Regions from separate parts of the Homo sapiens genome. Here region 1 is linked to region 2. The links are contacts of gene promoters, found by promoter capture Hi-C in blood cells and fetal thymus (Javierre and others, 2016). All regions are on one chromosome and are shown on one strand. The core of a region is centred on a gene start or on the middle of the fragment in contact, and the rest is flanking DNA. Distances in the headings are between cores, read along the strand shown. Region 1 overlaps SELE (selectin E). Region 2 holds the start of F5 (coagulation factor V).

Region 1 (4,268 bases), core at 728-3,227, 140 kb before region 2:
GCAAGTCACTTGAATGAAATGAGGTCTCAGTTCCTAAATTTGTACATTAAGAGAGTTAGATGAGCTTCTCTCCAAGATTCCTTAGCACAGCGTTGTGCAGTAGAGCTTTTGTGATAATGGAAATGTTCCATAGCTGTGTTTTCCAGTGTGTACCTATGAGCCACATGTGGTTATTGAGTACTTGAAATGTGGCTGGTGACACTGAGGAACTGAATTTTAAATGTTATTTGATTTCAACGAATTCAAGTTTAAATTTGAGTAGCCACACAGATAGTGGCTACTATAGTAGACAGTGCAGCATTAGGGTTTTAAAATTTGTAATGTATTCTAGTACTTAAATTTGAAATATAGCTTTGTGAATGGTTCTCATCCTGGTTGGAAGCTTACTGTAGTATTTTTAGCAGTTGTGAGAAAAGTAACAAGAAATTTGTTGTGGTACCTAAGTTTGCTGTGTTTGTTCATATAATTTGAACAGTTTTGAGGTAAACACAATTACACTACTCTCCCCATATCACTCAATATTTCTTTTTTATGGTTGTCATCACTGCTTTTTTGTTGTTGTTGTTATGGATCAGCATTTTCTTGAATAAAAGAAAAGGGGTAGAATTACAGTCAATTTTACAAATTCCATTAGAAATTTTATAAATTTTTAAACTAAAAAAAAAAAAAACCAAACTGTAGTTCTAGTTTCCAGTGTTCTTATCTGTTAAAGGTGAGAGATGAGCAGAACTGATTTGGGTTTCTTTTTCAGTTGTGAACTGTACAGCCCTGGAATCCCCTGAGCATGGAAGCCTGGTTTGCAGTCACCCACTGGGAAACTTCAGCTACAATTCTTCCTGCTCTATCAGCTGTGATAGGGGTTACCTGCCAAGCAGCATGGAGACCATGCAGTGTATGTCCTCTGGAGAATGGAGTGCTCCTATTCCAGCCTGCAATGGTAAATCCCTCTGAGAATGCACAGAACGTTCTGTAACTCATCCCTCATTGCTTCTGTTTTTTGATTCAACTTACATTTTCAAAACTTCAGGGAAAGTTTTTTTTTTGTTTTTGTTTTTAATACAATTTGTTCTCTCAGCCAATGTATATTGCCAACCCAGTACCTGCTTGGGTTGAGAGAGGTTTTTTTATTCTATGCTTGAAATGGGTGTTTCTGAGGCTCTGGTGATTTGTAAGGGAGACCATAAAACAATAAAGCTCTAGAAATCTCAATGGATTTCTCATCTTGTTTCCCTGTTTAACTTTTCCAAGCCATGGGACTAACTTAAGACCATGATAGTCAAGCAGTCTTAGTATCTCTTTTTCTCTCTTAATTTTATCTTTCTGAACCAGAGGCCAAAAAAAGAAAAATCAGTTCTTCAGGCTCTGATGGGCTAAAATAAATGAATAGCCTACGTATGTCAGTACTAGTCATAACTCCTAATCTGGAATCTATTTTTTTTAAATTTTTACCTCACGTAAATGATAACATAGATTAGAGACCACTCAGCATAGGCAAAGTGGAAATCAGAAAAGATAGAATATCCATGAAAAAGAATAAAAGCTTTTATTCTGGCTGTGCATGTCCCTAAGAATTGACATAGGACTTTGGGATCTACCCTTTGAAGGCAGCTTCCTCACTCTGTTAGGCACCCAGCTCAATAGGAAGTGAAAAGATCATTCTTCTGTAAAATTCATGGTGCTCTTTAAAATCCTCAGTGGTTGAGTGTGATGCTGTGACAAATCCAGCCAATGGGTTCGTGGAATGTTTCCAAAACCCTGGAAGCTTCCCATGGAACACAACCTGTACATTTGACTGTGAAGAAGGATTTGAACTAATGGGAGCCCAGAGCCTTCAGTGTACCTCATCTGGGAATTGGGACAACGAGAAGCCAACGTGTAAAGGTAGAGTTGTTCCACATGGAGACTTACTGTGAACATTCTTTCTCTCAACCCATACTGGAAATGGGCAAGCTAATTCTAGGCCGTGCTAATATCAATGCGTATATTTGTTACAGCTGTGACATGCAGGGCCGTCCGCCAGCCTCAGAATGGCTCTGTGAGGTGCAGCCATTCCCCTGCTGGAGAGTTCACCTTCAAATCATCCTGCAACTTCACCTGTGAGGAAGGCTTCATGTTGCAGGGACCAGCCCAGGTTGAATGCACCACTCAAGGGCAGTGGACACAGCAAATCCCAGTTTGTGAAGGTAAGCTTGAGATCCTTCGATTTATACTTTCTTAAAGAACAACCATCTTCAAACTTGGACAGTGAAAAAAAAAACCAATACCCACTTTAACTATAGAAATCAGATTTGATGAGCAACCCTCGTATCTTTGAGATTCATTTAAAAGAACTAATGTTTGGCCAGGGAAAGGATCATATGTGTTAAGAATGAATTCTTTGCTGTTTTTTTTTAACTGTGATGTGCTGATAAAACTTTGTAGACATTAGCATGGAATAGACAGAATTCTTAATCTAAAGGAATCATATTAGAAAATTCGGAAAGCAGAATAATGAGAACATGATTTGAATGTAAAACTCTCATCACACCTGTCTTCTGAAATGGCTCATAATTAGCAGTGATGAGACTGTTTCAAGCATGGTGTCAGCTACAGAGATAGTATTGATGCATATATAAGCAGTAAATTTTAATTCACTTTAAAGTGAGAGCAAGGATATTGAAAACAAGCAGTTTTTACTATCAGGCACTGGCCTTGTCCTAGCCAAAGCCAGCACAGAATGATTTCCAGTAGCAAAACATAACACAAAAACCAAACTGCAAAACAGACAAATTTTATAGGGGTGCTTTCTTTTCTTTCTTTTTGGCACCATCTATAAACATCCATGACCCATATGTTGTCCTCAGACTGCGTGAAATCTTTCCTTGGACCATAATTTATTTTGTGTGTTAGAAGAACAGTGCTCAGGAACTAATGTTCTGATTAATTAGTCTTTTAATTAGTGCCATGATCAGTGAGGGGGCTGAAATTCAAAGAAAACACAGCCATCTTCCCATTTGTCCAGGGAATTATAAAGAATCTTCAGTTCTCCAAGTGTTGCTTGAATGAACTGGGTTCACTCAACAAACGCCAAGTACTCTCTAGTTCCACTGCAATATTTTCTGACCATCATTTTGATGTCTCAGCTTTCCAGTGCACAGCCTTGTCCAACCCCGAGCGAGGCTACATGAATTGTCTTCCTAGTGCTTCTGGCAGTTTCCGTTATGGGTCCAGCTGTGAGTTCTCCTGTGAGCAGGGTTTTGTGTTGAAGGGATCCAAAAGGCTCCAATGTGGCCCCACAGGGGAGTGGGACAACGAGAAGCCCACATGTGAAGGTACAGTCTTTGTTTTTATTTTATTTTAAGATAAAAAGAACTATTGAAGAGCTTGGGAACTTGGTTACCTTGGGAAACGTATTGCTGGAGATGCAAACAAACTTCTAAAGTGCTCTCTCGTGTGTTCCAGCTGTGAGATGCGATGCTGTCCACCAGCCCCCGAAGGGTTTGGTGAGGTGTGCTCATTCCCCTATTGGAGAATTCACCTACAAGTCCTCTTGTGCCTTCAGCTGTGAGGAGGGATTTGAATTACATGGATCAACTCAACTTGAGTGCACATCTCAGGGACAATGGACAGAAGAGGTTCCTTCCTGCCAAGGTAGAATTGAGTGCAGACTTTTTTAGGGTACAGGTCAAATACTTCATAAAGTTTCTGAACCTAGATTGCCCCAAAGGGGTTTGGTCCTAATTTCCTACATGCTGAAAACTAAGTAGCGCTTACACTTTACATTCATTGTTGACTTTTAAGCAAGTTTTGGAAGTTTTCCAGTAGATTTTTCTGAAACTCTGCCTGTGTACCTAACATTTGCAGTGGTAAAATGTTCAAGCCTGGCAGTTCCGGGAAAGATCAACATGAGCTGCAGTGGGGAGCCCGTGTTTGGCACTGTGTGCAAGTTCGCCTGTCCTGAAGGATGGACGCTCAATGGCTCTGCAGCTCGGACATGTGGAGCCACAGGACACTGGTCTGGCCTGCTACCTACCTGTGAAGGTGATGCATTGATTGATGGTGGTTGTCTGGTGATTAAAAAGAAAAAGGGGGAGCTATCTTGTTACAGTAATCAACTATTCATTATATCCAAACCAGAAAGTTCGCCCAGGTTGACAAGTTGTGAATATTAAGTTGTATGGGGATAGAGAAAAAACAGAAGTTGCATGTTGATGGAAAGGGTAGAATTCTGACAACTGGAAAAAGGAGACAGAGAGAGGAGAGGAGAAAGGGGAAATGGAAAACAAGAG
Region 2 (4,781 bases), core at 1,842-4,341:
TTCCAGAGACCTGTCCTTTTCCTGGTCTCCTCATTCAGCCTCCATATGATCCTGTTGTGAACATCAAGTTTCCTGCTACACTGGACTTAACTATAATGCATTTGCTGCAGGTTTCCATAAACACCCATGAATCAAAGACATGGAATTACCTTAGATTAGCTCTGGACCAGCCTGTTGGACCCGCTCTGGACCAACCCTGTTTCCTGAGTTTGGGATTGTGGTACAATCTCAAATTCTCAACCTACCACCCCTTCCTGTCCCACCTCTTCTCTTCCTGTAACACAAGCCACAGAAGCCAGGAGCAAATGTTTCTGCAGTAGTCTCTGTGCTTTGACTCACCTGTTACTTGAAATACCAGTGAACCAAAGAGACTGGAGCATCTGACTCACAAGAAGACCAGACTGTGGAGAAATAAAAATACCTCTTTATTTTTTGATTGAAGGAAGGTTTTCTCCACTTTGTTGGAAAGCAGGTGGCATCTCTAATTGGAAGAAATTCCTGTAGCATCTTCTGGAGTCTCCAGTGGTTGCTGTTGATGAGGCCTCTTGGACCTCTGCTCTGAGGCTTCCAGAGAGTCCTCTGGATGGCACCAGAGGCTGCAGAAGGCCAAGAATCAAGCTAGAAGGCCACATGTCACCGTGGACCTTCCTGCCACCAGTCACTGTCCCTCAAATGACCCAAAGACCAATATTCAAATGCGTAATTAAAAGAATTTTCCCCAAATGCCGTGTTCCTCTATTTTATGGTTTGTTCAGTAAGGTCTGTATACATCACATTGTTTACCATCAGTGTAATAACACACAATTATGGTTGTCCTATTTACACCTCAACCATTCATTCAGTCAGCAAATATGTATCGCACACCCTACACTGCAAGAGAAAATCAGAGAAATGGAAAAATTCTTCATCACCTTAATATTTTACAGGGAAGAACAAATGTGTTTTACATGTTCTTTAAATCCCATGTTTAATAAATAGGTCATTGAAAGTTATATAGTATTTATCTGGAACTGATGTTAAAAAAAATAGAGAGCCAAAAATTATAGTAGTCATCTTGTCTCTGTAAAATGTAATTAAATAAATATGTCATGTACACTGTATATACATAAGCAAACATGCAAATAAAAAAGCAGCCTACTCAAAGGTTACAATAATGTTGCAACAATTCTGGTAGTAACCTTGGGATTTAGGGACACAGTGCTTTCAAAACGTTTCTCTGATACACTGCCAGTAGCATCTCTGACTGCTTATTTAAATGTCAATCAGTAGGCTAGGTGTTCTAGGACTTTGGTCTCAACCCTGTTTCCTGAGTCAGAATCTACATTTTGTAAAAGTTCCCCTGGGAATTCTGATGGTCTGCCAACTTTGGGAGACACTGATAATATTGTAGATAAAGAAGTGTAAGCAACTGTTCAGTTAGGGAGACAATAGATACCTGCATGGAATAACAAAAGGTAATTAACATGATTATATAATTTGAATAGTGTTGTAATAGTTCATAAAATGGAAAAGCCAATTTGAGCCCAGAATCTGGGAGATAGGCAGAACTCTGGACTGTAAAGAATGGCCCAGCAAAGAGGAAGAAAATGGGCATTCTAAGTTGGTGCAATAATATCAGCACAGGAGAAAAGACAGAATATTGGGGGGAGTGGGGAGGGAGGAAGAGGCTGTTGATGAGCCTGATATCATTAACAGAGACCTCATGTGAGGTGCCAGATTACAATTTATTGAATGTACTGAATGCATAAAGCATAAGACAGAAACCTGGAGCCATGCAGATACAGGGAACCCAGGACAAGTCATTATGATGCCTCAGACAATATAATTCGCAGATTCTCTATCAATAGCAAAGTAAGATTTAAGGTGCTGTGAAACAGTCAGATCCTTCAAGAAAAACAAGAATACAAGGGGTCCTGGAGACAGGAAAATATGATCATAATAATAAATTTGTGATTCCTTCTTTCTCTCTTTTTCTCTTTCTTTCTTTTTCTTTCTTTCTTTTTTTTTTTTGATGGAGTTTTGCTCTCGTTGCCCAGGCTGGAGTAAAATGGCATGATATCAGCTCACTGCAAACTCCACCTTCCAGGTTCAAGCAATTCTCTTGCCTCAATCTCTCGAGTAGGTGGGATTACAGGTGTCCACCACAACGCCCGGCTAATTTTTTATATTTTTAGTAGAGAAGGGTTTCACCATGTTGGCCAGGCTGGTCTTGAACTCCTGACCTCAGGTGATTCACCCGCCTTGGCCTCCCAAAGTACTGGGATTACAGGCGTGAGCCACTGCGCCTAGCCTCTGTGTGTTAAGTGCTGGAACTATAGTTTACAGTAGCATTTTATCCTCCCAACATACCCTATCAGGAAAAATTATTATTGTCATCCTTATTTCACAGATGTCAAAACTGAACAGAGAGGTACAGTAACTTGCCCAAGACAACACAGCTAGTAAGTGAAACTGAAATCTGGACAACTGATTTTTTTCAGCCAAGCTCTTCAAGCCCGCTGCTATGCTGCAGCTTAGCTGGCGACAGGCCCTTATCAAGGCAGAACTGTGCCTTGATAGAGGCCAGGAAGGCGATTCAGAGCAGTAGGCCTTGTCCATGTGTTTGTTCCCTGCTTCTTCACCACTTGAAAATAGTGTTTCAGTGCCCAGTAACAGGGCACAATACTCTTTTCCTCAGATTAAAAGGGGAGCCATCTGCTTAAGGTGGTTGGGTGCCACTGCACTGCACAGAAGGTTCTCCAAGTGTGAGCTTGGACCCAGGCAGGCCTCAGGTCAGTGGTAACGGACGACTGCTTCCGTGGTGTTGGCAGGTGGAAATGGAGGGATACAGCTTTGTCCGGCTCATGAATCCCTGGGCATTGTCCCGCCTGCTAGAGCCTCTGATCTCTGCCCCTTCTTCACCTGCAGTAAAACAGTCACTAGTTTGGTTGCTCTCCCTAATACCTCTGGTCACTGGGAGCTGTGATCTCACCAAACCCCTGCCAGGAAAAGCCCCAGAAAAAGCGGAGGGAGTGAGAGCCAGAGGCTGCTGCTGCCGTTTGCAAGAACTGCAGGGGAGGAGGACGCTGCCACCCACAGCCTCTAGAGCTCATTGCAGCTGGGACAGCCCGGAGTGTGGTTAGCAGCTCGGCAAGCGCTGCCCAGGTCCTGGGGTGGTGGCAGCCAGCGGGAGCAGGAAAGGAAGCATGTTCCCAGGCTGCCCACGCCTCTGGGTCCTGGTGGTCTTGGGCACCAGCTGGGTAGGCTGGGGGAGCCAAGGGACAGAAGCGGCACAGCTAAGGCAGTTCTACGTGGCTGCTCAGGGCATCAGTTGGAGCTACCGACCTGAGCCCACAAACTCAAGGTAACTCAGGTGTGGAGTCCGGGTGGGCTTCTCTAGAGAGGAAAATCTATTTCTTTTAGAGAACATTCCCTTTGCAATGTCATGGCTTTTTTTTTTTTTAACTTCAGGTAAGTAAATATAACTAATAGGAGAGTATACTGAATTAAATAAACTGGGCAAATGCTAATTTTGCATCCAACAATGTAGTTTATCATTCTGAGGGTTTAGAAAGCACCCTATTTGATTGGTTAGATGCTACCTTCTTTTCAAGTTTATTTTCAATACAGTTTTGTTAGTATGTTTGTGTTGGCTTATATATTGGTTAATTCAAAGGCACCAGGCACTTGCTCCCTCATTAGCCCTTCCTGCAAACTCCTGTTCCAGATTTTTAGTTGTATAGTATTTTTATGAGACTCCTAGTTACATATTATTTATTCCATTGTCTACATAGCTTCATCTTCTAAAACTAAAAATGAACACCTTGTGCTTTTTGTCATATAATTTTATTGCTGCCTTATAAATGACTTTCAAAATATCATCAGTTCTTGTATGTTTTTGTACTTTCACCTTTTTTCTGCTTCATATTTGACTTATTTATCCTATTGAATGTGACTCTTCATTTTTTTTTCTCTCTGTTCATCATGTCCTGGGATATGGTTTACCTTGGCTACTTAAAGGCATATGTAACTGAGAGGAGGTTTAATTCAGATAAAATACTATCCTTGAGTTGCAAACTATTTTTTCTAATTGAAATGTTAAAAATAAGACTTCTCAGAAATTAACTAAATCATACAGTCTATTCAATATTTCCAGTTAGTTATTTTTTAAATGGTAAACCTGCTAGTGTGACTCACTTTTTTTCCTTACATCACACTTCATTATGAAAGATGTGTTCCTCTTTTACAATTACAAAACCAAAGTAATCTGCCAAAAAATAATGTAATATTTTGAGATCTTTTAGTGTATAATATTAACCTTTTTAAAACTCTCATTGTAACTGGGTTATTTTGGAGGGTATTACATACCATCTTGGTCTTATAATAAGAAGAGATCCCTCCTTCTCAAAAATAATCATTTTAAATATCGTACTTCAAAGTGATAATCTAGGTCACACCCACACCCTTTGGGAACTGCCGTAAGCTAAAACCCCAAGGAAAATAACAGTCCTTCTAACACTAATCTTGCCTGCTCATGAGTAGAATGCAGACTTGGTTGTTGGCTTTCTTGTAGCATGCTGGGTTCATGCTTGGGAGTTTTTTCTCTTGTCTGTAGTTAGCGTTGAAAATAACAAGCAAAATACCGGAGGCAGAACCAGATAGGGCAAAGGTCTGATTCACATGGTGAGTACACAGGGAACCATGACTGGTCATTCTGTCCCCTCATCCTGTGGGTAAGTTTCCAAAGTTCTGGAGATTCGTTCCTCTGGTAGGAATTGTTGAGTCAAAACCATAGAAACACA

Evidence for each region. Contacts are between HindIII fragments. The CHiCAGO score rates a contact against its expected background, and 5 or more counts as called.
Region 1: a fragment that was not itself captured here is called in contact with the fragment with the promoter of F5 in region 2 in 11 of 17 cell types (neutrophils, activated CD4 T cells, non-activated CD4 T cells and 8 more); the score reaches 12.4 in neutrophils.

What each region holds. Positions count from the first base shown.
Region 1 is chr1:169,727,101-169,731,368 of GRCh38, reverse strand. SELE (selectin E) reads left to right here. Exons shown (of 14, transcript NM_000450.2): 5 at 752-937; 6 at 1,696-1,881; 7 at 1,995-2,183; 8 at 3,123-3,311; 9 at 3,442-3,630; 10 at 3,844-4,020. Among named protein-coding and RNA genes, the nearest start is that of SELE, 4.8 kb to the left of the region's middle. The HindIII fragment of the contact is 426 bases long and covers 1,765-2,190 here.
Region 2 is chr1:169,584,791-169,589,571 of GRCh38, reverse strand. It overlaps F5 (coagulation factor V), which reads left to right and starts at 3,091. Exons shown (of 25, transcript NM_000130.5): 1 at 3,091-3,343. The coding sequence starts at 3,186. SELP (selectin P) reads left to right here. Exons shown (of 17, transcript NM_003005.4): 17 at 111-723. RefSeq lists enhancers at 2,616-3,115, 3,116-3,617. The HindIII fragment of the contact is 11,391 bases long and covers 1-4,781 here.